Regions from separate parts of the Homo sapiens genome. Here regions 1, 2 and 4 are each linked to region 3. Evidence: promoter capture Hi-C in 16 types of primary human blood cells and fetal thymus (Javierre and others, 2016). All regions are on one chromosome and are shown on one strand. The core of a region is centred on a gene start or on the middle of the fragment in contact, and the rest is flanking DNA. Distances in the headings are between cores, read along the strand shown.

Region 1 (2,700 bases), core at 20-2,519, about 20 Mb before region 3:
AGCCGAGATCATGCCATTGCACTCTAGCCTGGGCAACAAGAGCAAAACTCCATCTCAAAACAACAACAACAACAACAACAGCACAATAATAATAATAACAGTCTTTAATATGGCCAACGTGTGACTAAAAACACCTGAAGAAAATCTTGCTTTTTTTTTTTTTTTTTTTTTGAGACAGAGTCTCACTCTGTCACCCAGGCTGGAGTGTAATGGCACAATCATGGCTCACTGCAACCTTGACTGCCCAGGCTCAAAAGCAATCCCAGCTGGGCGCAGTGGCTCATGCCTGTAATCCCAACGCATTGGGAGGCCGAGGCAGGTGGATCATGAGGTCAAGAGATCGAGACCATCCTAGCCAACATGGTGAAACCCTGCCTCTACTAAAAATACAAAAATTAGCTGGGTGTGGTGGCGTGCGCCTGTAGTACCAGCTACTTGGGAGGCTGAGGCAGTAGAATCACTTGAACCCAGGAGGTGGAGGTTGCAGGGAGCTGAGATGGAGCCACTGCACTCCAGCCTGGTGACAGAGTGAGACTCCAAAGAACTGGGATTACAGGCGTGAGCCTCCGAGCCCGGCCAGGGAGTTTTGTTTTTTTTTTTTTTTGATTGCAAAGAGATGTTGAATTTTGTCAAATGCTTTTTCTGTTTCTATTGAGATGACCATATGATTTTTGTCCTTCATTCTGTCAATGTGATGTATTGCACATACTAATCTGCATATGTTAAACCATCTTTGCTTCCCTGGGATAAGTCCCACTTGATCATTGTGTATCTTTTTGACATGCTATTGGATTTGGTTTGCTAGTATTTTGTTGAGGATTTTTGCATCTGCGTTTATCAGGGATCTTGGCCTGTAGTTTTCTCTTTCTTCTGTCTTTGCCTGGTTTTAGTATGAGGATGGTGCTGGCCTCACAGAATCAGTTTGGAAAAATTCCTTCCCCTTCAATTTTTTTGGATTAGTTTGAGAAATATTAGAATTTGTTCTCCCTTAAAAGTTTGGTAGAATCAAATCCAAGAAGGGGATGATGAGAACCTCTAATTTTCAGGCAAACTGGGCAGTTGTTGGTAATCAGGTGACCTAGTAGTTGTCATTGGCATCTGAAGAGGTGGGCAGTCTTGTGGGACTGAGCAATTAAACTGTAAGGTCTGTGCTAACTCAGGTTAGTGTCAGAATTGAATTCAATTGTAGGACACCCATGTAGGGAGGGCTGGAGAAGTGGTGTCAGAAAAACTCCACATATTTTGTGTTAAAAACGAAACATTCTGGAAGTATTGAGTGTTGTGAGAGTATATATTTTTAAAACCAGTTTGTTTTTCCTATGCAACTGTATAAAAAGACATATCAAGTCTCACTCCCCCCACCACCCCAATCACTATAGGTTATCACTATAGGTATTGTTTCTGGTTCACGTTTCCAATACTTCTTTTTTCCTATCTTTTCTTTTTTTAGTGAATATAAACAAATGCTTATATCTAATCTAATTTCCTTTTCTTTTTTAGACGAACTATATGTTACACTGTTCTATACTTTCCATTTTTTATATATTCCAGAGTTAATGTCATTCCGTAGAGAGCTTCGTTTTTTTTTTTTTCTGCTGTGTGTGTATGGGCTGCATAAAACTTTATGATGTGACTGTGGTGATTTGAGCTGCTACCTTTATCAAATACTAAGCATCTATGTGGATGTTAATTTCTTTTTTTTTTGAGATGAAGTCTCACTCTGTCACCAGGCTGTAGCGCAGTGGCACAATCTCAGCTCACTGCAACCTCTGCCTCCCAGGTTCAAGCGATTCTCCTGCCTCAGCCTCCCGAGTAGCTGGGACTACAGGCGCGTGCCACCACACCCAGCTAATTTTTGTATTTTTAGTAGAGACGGGGTTTCATCATGTTGGCCAGGATGGTCTCGATCTCTTCACCTCATGATTCACCCGCCTTGGCCTCCCAAAGTGCTGGGATTACAGGTGTGAGCCACCGTGCCTGGCCGGGATGTTAATTTCTTTCTTTCTTTCTTTTTTTGAGACGGAGTTTTGCTCCTGTTGCCCAGGCTGGAGTGCAGTGGCTTAATCTCGGCTCACTGCAACCTCCGCCTCCCAGGTTCAAGCAATTCTCCTGCCTCAGCCTCCTGAGTAGCTGGGATGACAGGCGCATGCCACCATGCCCAGCTTATTTTTTGTATTTTTAGTAGAGATGGGGTTTCATCATGTTGGCCAGGCTGGTCTCGAACTCCTGACCTCAGGTGATCCACCCACCTCGGCCACCCAAAGGGCTGGGCGTGAGCCACCGCGCCCGGCCATGGATGTTTATTTCTCCATTTCCCATCCTCCTCCCTTTGTCTGTCTCTCTAACCACACACAAATAGCACACTGTTTTAAGTATAGAGGCTTTATCATGTACCTCATATAACTTCATGTAACTTCAATTCTACTTTCTGTCTCTATGAATACACCTATTCTAGGCACCTCATATAAGTGGATTCATACAATATTTGTCCTTTTGGTCTGGCTTATCTCACTCCGCATAGTGTTGAAAAAGAAAATAAATGGCTTTTATCTGAGGAATGCAAGCCTTCTTTATGTGATCAAGCCCAGAGAGGGGTTGGGATGACACAGCTGTTGTGGTGGCTCATGCCTGTAATCCCAGCACTTTGGGAGGCCTCGGTGGGAGGATTACTTGAGGCCCGGAGTTTGAAACTAGACTGGG
Region 2 (2,700 bases), core at 52-2,551, about 20 Mb before region 3:
CATAAAAGGCCAAGAGGTCTTGAAGTAAGTAAAAATAAGTTCAGGTTTACCAACAAACTCTACAGCCTTAAGTTACTTTCTGCCGGCCAAGGTTTTCTCATCAGAAAATGAGGACAAGTGTTTGACCTAGAATTTGGGAAATCTGACTAGTGCTGTACTGTGCTAAAATTCACTCTTCTTATGTATAACGTTGTTTTATTATTTTATTAGTTGATGGCCTCTCAACCGTACCCAGTAATAAGAGAAACTTTACCCTCTAATTAGAAAATAATGGATATCTACTTTTGGCCTGCTGTGGCAGAGGAAAAGGCAGTTACCCTAGGACTGGTTTTGAAATAATCTTTCTAAAAACAAAGAAAAAACTACGTTAATTTTGGATTCTTCCCGATAACACATATATTTGATCCAATAGAAAAATGATGTCTAAATTACTTGTCAGATAAATTGATTATCTTTTCCAGATTATTACATTACTATTTAAGGAAGAAATAACTTGGCCATAGTATTTTCACTGTCACACACGATCACACACAGCTCATTTGCTCTTGGCACCCTTACAGACACTGAAATACAAGCACAAAGAAAGCACGTTTATATAACACAGATCACCAGTTACTCAATTACGGCCACACACAAAAAAGCAGATATACATACAGATACCCTTCATAAGCAAACCACAATAGAGATCTGTGTAAAATCGTCTTACTCTGTTAGACGATTCTACACAGTTATAAAATCCCATTACTACGCAGCTTAAAGTACAAATCACCTCACACCCCACAGCAGGAAGAATCACACACAGGCAGAAACACAACCATACACACCCGGCCACGGAAAGACTCTCAGTCCACCTGGCATCTCCCATTGTCACACACACCCCAAGGGCCTGGGAGGGCACACACAGGGTCCTCTGCAAATCCGAGGTTCCGGCGGGTCCCCGCACCGGCCCCAGCTCCTCCCCCGCACCTGCCTGGCCGGCGGGTCCCACCCTCTCTCCTGCCAGGGGTAGACCCTGGGACCACTCAGCTCGCTCTCGCAGGCCCTGAGCGTCTGACGCCTGCGCACTGAGCGCGGGCGGGCGGGCACTCCCAGAAACCTCCGGGGCGCTGCAGGCGGGACAAGCAGGTTCCACAGGCCGAGCCCACGAGCCCCTCGAGGGGTGAGCGGCCCGGGCCTCCTGGCGTTCTGGCCGGCTAGCCAAGCGCTGGACTACATTTCCCAGAGGCACGGCGTCCGGAGCGCTGGACTACATTTCCCAGAGGCACCGCTCCCGGAGCGTAGCTTCATTTCCGTTAGTTTGCGAGATTTGGAGGCCTCGCGTGGGGAGAGGGCCGCGTCTGTGGAGGAGCTTGGCTCCGCACCTGCTGGGCTGGCGAACCCGAAATTGGGCTTGGAACCCGGGAGCCAGATCTTGGACCCTGAACTGCACCTCTGTCAAGGTAGGAGTGTCCGGGATGCCGGAGCGGACACGCGCGGAGAAAGCGTCGCTGGGGTTACTCGTGTGGCCGTGTCTCCGGTTTTGTGTGCAGGCTACAGCCTGCCTGGTATTGGCGACTGCCTGTGCATACACGACTGGACGTGTGTGGCTGTGGTTTTGTGTATGAGCATTTGTATGAGTGTGAGTTGTGACTCTGAGGGTGTTTGTGACTGTTTGCTTACCTGGCTGGGATATACTTATGTGACTGTGATTTTATGTGTGCCGCGTGTATAATTGGGGTTTGCCTGTGACTATGAAGTGTGTGACAGTTGTGACAAGAGTGTTTGGATGTTCTTGTGTCACTTTGAGGTTGTGTGTAAACCTGATATCGTGGGATGGATTTGCCAGTAAATTTAAGGTGTGTGACAGTGTTGCTGTGACACGGTGTTTATTACCGCGTGTTTCCCTGATTTCGTACTGGGTTGGGTGACTGTCTGATTGTGTGTGACTGTGGGGTTGTGTGTGCTGTTTTCATGACTGTGTAAAGAGACTAAAATTGCAGCTTTGAAAGGGTGTTTTTGGCGGTATGTGTCTCTGACAAGGTGCTTGGATGTAATTATATGCCTTGTACTTAATGGGATTTTGTTTGAGACAAGGTGGTCTAACAATGTAGCATAATTGGGTGATTGTGCCTCTAGCTGTGTAACTGTGGAAATGTGATTATGTGTGACTTTATGTGGCCATTTGTATATTCTGTGACCTTATGGGGGTTTAGTCCAGTACAGAAGTAAATTTCTTTTTGGTATTTCTGGGGTTCATTTGGGGCTGAGGTCTGCCTATGGATTGTGAGTCCCATGTGGCTCTGTGCTCCTCCCATGTGGCTCTGAGGACTTAAGGACTTTTTGATTTGACCACAGTGGCTGCCCTTTCATCCATGGCCTGTATTGCTTCATTTCTGTATCCATCCTCGGTTCACCTTGGGAAATGTAGTTACTTACGAGTTCACGACTTCTTCCCTGCGTCCTCTTGCCTTATAGCCTTAAGGGGATTGGGTGCAGGGAAGTGGCAAGAAGTAAGGAAGTCAGACATTTGGACACCTGAGTGATGAATAGGAGTTATTTGCAAGTTACAGACCTGGTCTTAGGATGAGAATTTTAGGGCTGATAATACCTTCAAGACAGCCACTGGATGCTGTGCGCGGTGGCTCACATCTGTAATCCCAGCGCTTTGGGAGGCAGAGGCGGGTGGATTACCTGAGGTCATGGTTTCACCATGACCTCTAC
Region 3 (2,745 bases), core at 21-2,520:
CCCCCCACCCCTGACCCCTCTCATCCAGGCCTATAATTGCCCCAGCCTGTAAGCAGTGAGGGGTTCTGGCACTAAGCTAGTTCTCCCCATCACAGGTCTCGTGCTGGACATAAAACCTGCATTGCTGTAGAGCTGCCAACTCTGCCTTTCTTTAACCCTCGCCTTCCCTTCAAAACCTAACAGTTATTATTAATAGATTTCTGTAATTTTCATTTCACAAGTATTTTCACAGATAATTTCAACTCCCTGTAAAATGATAACTCACTTCTCAGGAAGGAGATAAGATCATGAAAGTTCACAGTTTTTATTGGGGATAATACGTTCCCTGTGTACATATACTCCAACTATGGAATGGCACAAAATGTCCTGTCAGGAAATGGCATGTATCAGTCACTCTCATTTTCAGACAGGATTGAGACTTTTAAAATAAATGTAAAATATTTCAGACATGAAGTAATAAGTATTATTAGAATAAAAGCATTGCACTCTTGGTAGGAACACAATCACTGACTCTACAGACAGTAATGATGTTTTCTTCTGGATCCAGAGGCACAGCGTCACCCTTTCAATCTACGTCGGTATCTCCTGTCTTCTTTTGTGCAAATTCCCAGCCATGTAGTCTTTCTTTGTTCTCTTGGACCAACCATATTGAAGCTTAATAAATAGAAGTCAAAGTTTAACTGTATGTGTATTTGAAAAGCAACATATGGCTGAGAGGCATGAGTAGAGACAGAGTGCCTTTGTGGTATAGTGTGTCCCTTTGGCGGTGTAGCCGTTGAGAACTTGCTGTGCTTCACAATCCGATATCATAGGTCCCTCACATTTCTGTGAGTATCCTAGACCTTACTTCAAGAAAATCTGGTTATGTCGCCTTTAAGAGCAACCCAAGCCCCGTCCTGTCCGTGGAGTCCGGCACTCTGTTTACCAGCTCCCCTGACGGTGCCACTGAGCCTCTATCCGCCATATAAGGACTGACCAACGCTCTAAGGCAAGTCCAGAAGCGGTGTCGAAACTTCATAACCCAGAAGACACTGCGGTTCTCGGCAGCGCGACTGACCCAATGAATGTGCAGGAAGGAACCTTTGCGTGCGTGCGTGCGTGCGTGCGTCCGTCCTCGTGCTCGCGCATCGTAGGAGGGCGGGACTTCCGGCGTCCTCTTGCCGTGGTTGATTTGATTTTCTCTGGTGTTTTCACTAGTTCCGGCCTTTGGCGCTCTATGACGTCACCGAAGTGACGGAGCGGAAAAGCGCGAGAAGCGGCTTGGTTCCTTGTACGCAGAGGCGGTAGTGACACAGGCACAACTGACAGTGGCAGAAGCTCAGCTGACAAGGACTGGGGACGGCGGTGTCCTTGTCTTGCCTTTGTCGCCCCCGCCCCTCTCTTCCCTGGCTGGACTTGCGGAGTCCCCGCCGAAGAACCCGAGGTGGGTGCCCCGTCCCAGGCCCCCCCCCACCTCCGCCCGACCCCTCCTTCCAGTGCTGAAGCCCATAGAAGGGGCCCTGCAGGTCAGGCCCCTTGTCTCGAAGAGAGGGGCGTTCCTGTGTGGGGTCCCCGTATCAGCTGGTTTGATGCAGCCTCAGAGCTCCCTTCGGGGATCTCAGGTTCAGAGCATGGAGGTGCTGCCAAGTGGGCCGCGTCGGGGAGCCCGGAGTGTGGGTTGTTTCTGCGGGAAAGAGAGGGTTTTGTGAATTTTCTCTTGGAATGGCAGCCTGAGCAGCCGGTATAACCATGGAAGGTTGTCAAGGGAAGACCAGTGGGAGGGGCAGGTCCAGAGTTAGAACGAGCAGGATGGGGAATTGACACAGAGAGACCCAGAAGAGGCCACTGCAGTGGATCCCAGAGGCTGCACCAGAGCCGTGGTATAAGAGGGACAATGTGATGGGATTCTGGATAGACCTGGAAGATAGAGCCAACAGGTTTTCCTGCCGTATCAGATATGTCTGTGAGCAAAAATAGGGAGTGAAGGGTCATTTTTTTTTTTTTGCCCGAACATCTGAAAGAATGAAGTTGGGGAAGTCAGCAGCATGAGAAGTAGGTTTCATGGAGAAGATCATGGGTTGGAGTTTGGCCAGTGTGATTCTCAGGCGTCTCAAGTTGAAAATGTCACATGGGTAGGGGGACAGAAAGGTGTGGAGTCTACAGAGGAGAACTGGTGTAGATTCTTCAAAAGAATAGAGGGTGGCCGGGCGTGGTGGCTCACGCCGGTAATCCCAGCACTTTGGGAGGCCAAGGCGAGCGGATCACAAGGTCAGGCGTTCAAGACCAGCCTGACCAACATGGTGAAACCCCGTCTTTAGTAAAAATACAAAAATTAGCCGGGGGTGGTGACGCGCGCCTGTAATCCCAGCTATTCGGGAGGCTGAGGCAGGAGAATTGCCTGAACCCAGGAGGTGGAGATTGCAGTGAGCCAAGATCGCGCCATTGCACTCCAGCCTGGGCGACAGAGCGAGATTCCGTGTCAAAAAAAGGTGCGGAGCGCGGGTCTCTTCCGCGGAAACTGACATTGCGTTTCCGTTGTCGGCCTCCCGCTGCAGGAGCCATATATTGAAGACCATGTCTGGAAGCTTCTACTTTGTAATTGTTGGTCACCATGATAATCCAGTTTTTGAAATGGAGTTTTTGCCAGCTGGGAAGGCAGAATCCAAAGACGACCATCGTCATCTGAACCAGTTCATAGCTCATGCTGCTCTCGACCTCGTAGATGAGAACATGTGGCTGTCGAACAACATGTACTTGAAAACTGTG
Region 4 (2,700 bases), core at 191-2,690, about 20 Mb before region 3:
TTAGTTCCTCCCCTAATCTGATGTTAAATTAGATCATAGTGTGGTCCTTGGACCAATAGTATCAGTAGCACCTGAAAATCATGCTGGAAATACAGATTCACAGGCTGCTCCCCAGAATACTGAAGAAGAAACTCTAGGAGTGAGACCCAACAATCTGTGTTTAACAAGTCCCCAGGTGAGTCTGATGCACAAAGAAACGTGAGCTGCTGTATTAGATGGTGTTGAGTTCATGCCACCGAATCACTGACACACACATCTGCTCACTGCTTGCTCTTCGCACAGGCCCCTGGATCCTCCTGGAATCCCTGATCCCTGTTGCTCCCTTGCGGAGTTTTCTAGTCCCTCTTATTTGAAGCATGTCTTTCAGAGCCTCGCACCACCCAGCTTGGGTATCTGGTGAATTCTGTGGTCTGCATGTCCATGTTTTTGACATTCTGGGAAGGGTGGCCCAGGCTGTGATTTGCCATCTACTGCTGCAGGCTATGGATGGTATTCAGAAGGGAGGGGAGATGCTGTGTGCGTGTTCTGAAGGGTTTCCCACTAAATGGAGAGACTGACTCTCTCCATAAGTATTTGATTTTTACTTTATCTCCTCGTTGACTTCACAGTGTAAGTGCAGTTTGTCTCTACTGGGTGATGCATGCAGATAAATGTTTATGTGAACATAAGAAGTCTGCATGTGTGGGTGAACTCTCCACATCATGTCATTTATTGTCCATCATTACGTATCTGTGGTGTCTAGCACATTCCTCTACCTTATTTTCTGTCATTGTACCTACTTCTACCTGAACACGTATTAAATATCTTATTAAAAATACACAAATATTATGTTTCCTCAGTGGTTTTTTCCCCCTCACATTGGGCCCTCCTCTTCAGTGGACTACAGTGTGGTACCTGCAGGTCTCAGGCCTTCTGGGAGGTTCCAGCTTTTCCTGGATGCTCTCTCTCTCTGGCCAGCTCAGGCTGGAGCAGTGGGTGTTGGTGCCATCCTGTGGCTATAGGTGATAAACCAGGTTGTGTTTTGACCCCTAGTCTTGAATCCTGGAGTTCTCACATGCGTGGATTTAAATGCTGTGTCTTTCTAAGGGCAGATTGTGCCCATTTTCCTTCTCTGCCTCTCAAGGGACTGTTTGCTGTGTTTATTGACTTACCATTAAAAAAAATCATATACATTGATGAATTAGATTGTACTCCATAAATTATATATGTTTGAAAAATAAAGAATATTTTTTCAATTTTTTTCTGATTTTTACCTATCTTTTAAATTGTATATATTTATGGGGTACAAAATGATGTTATGATTTTTCCATACAGTGTGGAATGTTTAAGTCAAATTATCCTATCCATTACCTCAAATACTTGACTTTTTTTGGTGATGAGAATGGTGTTTATCACTTTCACTCATCAGCTCCTGATGTCTTCCATGCTAGGGACAGGAAAGGCTCAACACTTGACTTTCCCTCCTGTTTTCTTAGCCACTGTCAACCCTTGAATGTACCCTCCAGGGTTGCCTGTCACCTTTTACACCTAGCCTGATCCTTGTGCACCCACTTTCCTCTCAGGGACTGTCCTTAGGGAGTGACTTTATGCACAGACTTAATGTGCTCTTCCTGCCTCCTTCATCCCCATAAGCCCCCATCTCAGCCCCATCTGATTATTTCCTCCCTCTCTCATTTCCTGTTATTCTGTTGGTTTTCTAACCTGAAGGGTAACTGCTTACTCCTTAGTTTTCTGCCTTAATTTCTAAGTCATAGGCTACTTTCAGGCTAAAAGTTTTCCTCCAGCCATGGTTTTAGTCTCATTCTGTAAGTCTTGGTTTTTAGTTTTATTCATTTAAAATTAATCTTTAATAACTTTTTTGACTCATTGGTGACAGAGTAATTCCCTCTCTTCCCACCACACCACCCTCTGTCCCCAAGATTCTGGAAGTTTGTTCTTCCCCTTTTGTGATCATTGTTACTTAAAACTTTGAGTTTTTCAAATTAGAAGTTTCTTCTATAAATGTATATAGAGCTTGGCTGGGCGTGGTGGCTCACGCCTGTAATCCCAGCGTTTGGGAGGCTGAGGCGGGTGGATCACGAGGTCAGGAGATCGAGACCATCCTGGCTAACATGGTGAAACCCGATCTCTACTAAAAATACAAAAAAATTAGCCAGGCGAGGTGGCAGGCGCCTGTAGTCCCAGCTACTCGGGAGGCTGAGACAGGAGAATGGCGTGAACCTGGGAGGCGGAGCTTGCAGTGAGCCGAGATGGCACCACTGCACTCCAGCCTGGGCGACAGAGTGAGACTCTGTCTCAAAAAAAAAAAAAAAAAAAAGTGTATAGAGCTAATAACTCCTTGCTTTTTTTTTTTTTTTTTTTGAGAGTCTCGCTCTTGTTGCCAAGGCTGGAGTGCAATGGCACAATCTTGGCTCACTGCAACTTCTGCCTCCTGGGTTCAAGTGATTCTCCTGCCTCACCCTCCCAAGTAGCTGGATTACAGGCAGTGGCCACCACGCCCATGTGGGGAAAAGCAAGAGAGATCAGATTGTTACTGTGTCTGTGTAGAAAGAAGTAGACATAGGAGACTCCATTTTGTTATGTACTAAGAAAAATTCTTCTGCCTTGAGATTCTGTTAATCTATAACCTTACCCCCAACCCCGTGCTCTCTGAAACATGTGCTGTGTCAACTCAGAGTTAAATGGATTAAGGGCGGTGCA

The links. Contacts are between HindIII fragments. The CHiCAGO score rates a contact against its expected background, and 5 or more counts as called.
Region 1: a fragment that was not itself captured here is called in contact with the fragment with the promoter of ZNF547 in region 3 in 5 of 17 cell types (total CD4 T cells, non-activated CD4 T cells, total CD8 T cells and 2 more); the score reaches 14.4 in total CD4 T cells.
Region 2: the fragment with the promoter of ZNF420 here is called in contact with the fragment with the promoter of ZNF547 in region 3 in 1 of 17 cell types (non-activated CD4 T cells); the score reaches 8.7 in non-activated CD4 T cells.
Region 4: a contact is called between a fragment that was not itself captured here and the fragment with the promoter of ZNF547 in region 3, in 1 of 17 cell types (fetal thymus). The highest score is 8.2, in fetal thymus.

Annotation. Positions count from the first base shown.
Region 1 is chr19:37,211,929-37,214,628 of GRCh38, forward strand. No RefSeq gene overlaps it. Among named protein-coding and RNA genes, the nearest start is that of ZNF585B, 2.7 kb to the left of the region's middle. The HindIII fragment of the contact is 8,273 bases long and covers 1-2,700 here.
Region 2 is chr19:37,077,132-37,079,831 of GRCh38, forward strand. ZNF420 (zinc finger protein 420) reads left to right here and starts at 1,302. Exons shown (of 5, transcript NM_144689.5): 1 at 1,302-1,439. It overlaps LOC105372390 (a long non-coding RNA gene), which reads right to left and starts at 1,066. Exons shown (of 2, transcript XR_001754095.2): 1 at 967-1,066. RefSeq lists a silencer at 758-1,047 and an enhancer at 1,138-1,377. The HindIII fragment of the contact is 14,557 bases long and covers 1-2,700 here.
Region 3 is chr19:57,362,281-57,365,025 of GRCh38, forward strand. ZNF547 (zinc finger protein 547) reads left to right here and starts at 1,271. Exons shown (of 4, transcript NM_173631.4): 1 at 1,271-1,423. TRAPPC2B (trafficking protein particle complex subunit 2B) reads left to right here and starts at 1,271. Exons shown (of 2, transcript NM_001355204.2): 1 at 1,271-1,423; 2 at 2,535-2,745. The coding sequence starts at 2,554. RefSeq lists enhancers at 824-903, 944-1,323. The HindIII fragment of the contact is 1,910 bases long and covers 653-2,562 here.
Region 4 is chr19:37,328,890-37,331,589 of GRCh38, forward strand. It overlaps a transcript of ZNF875 not described here. Among named protein-coding and RNA genes, the nearest start is that of ZNF875, 4.4 kb to the right of the region's middle. The HindIII fragment of the contact is 7,336 bases long and covers 1-2,700 here.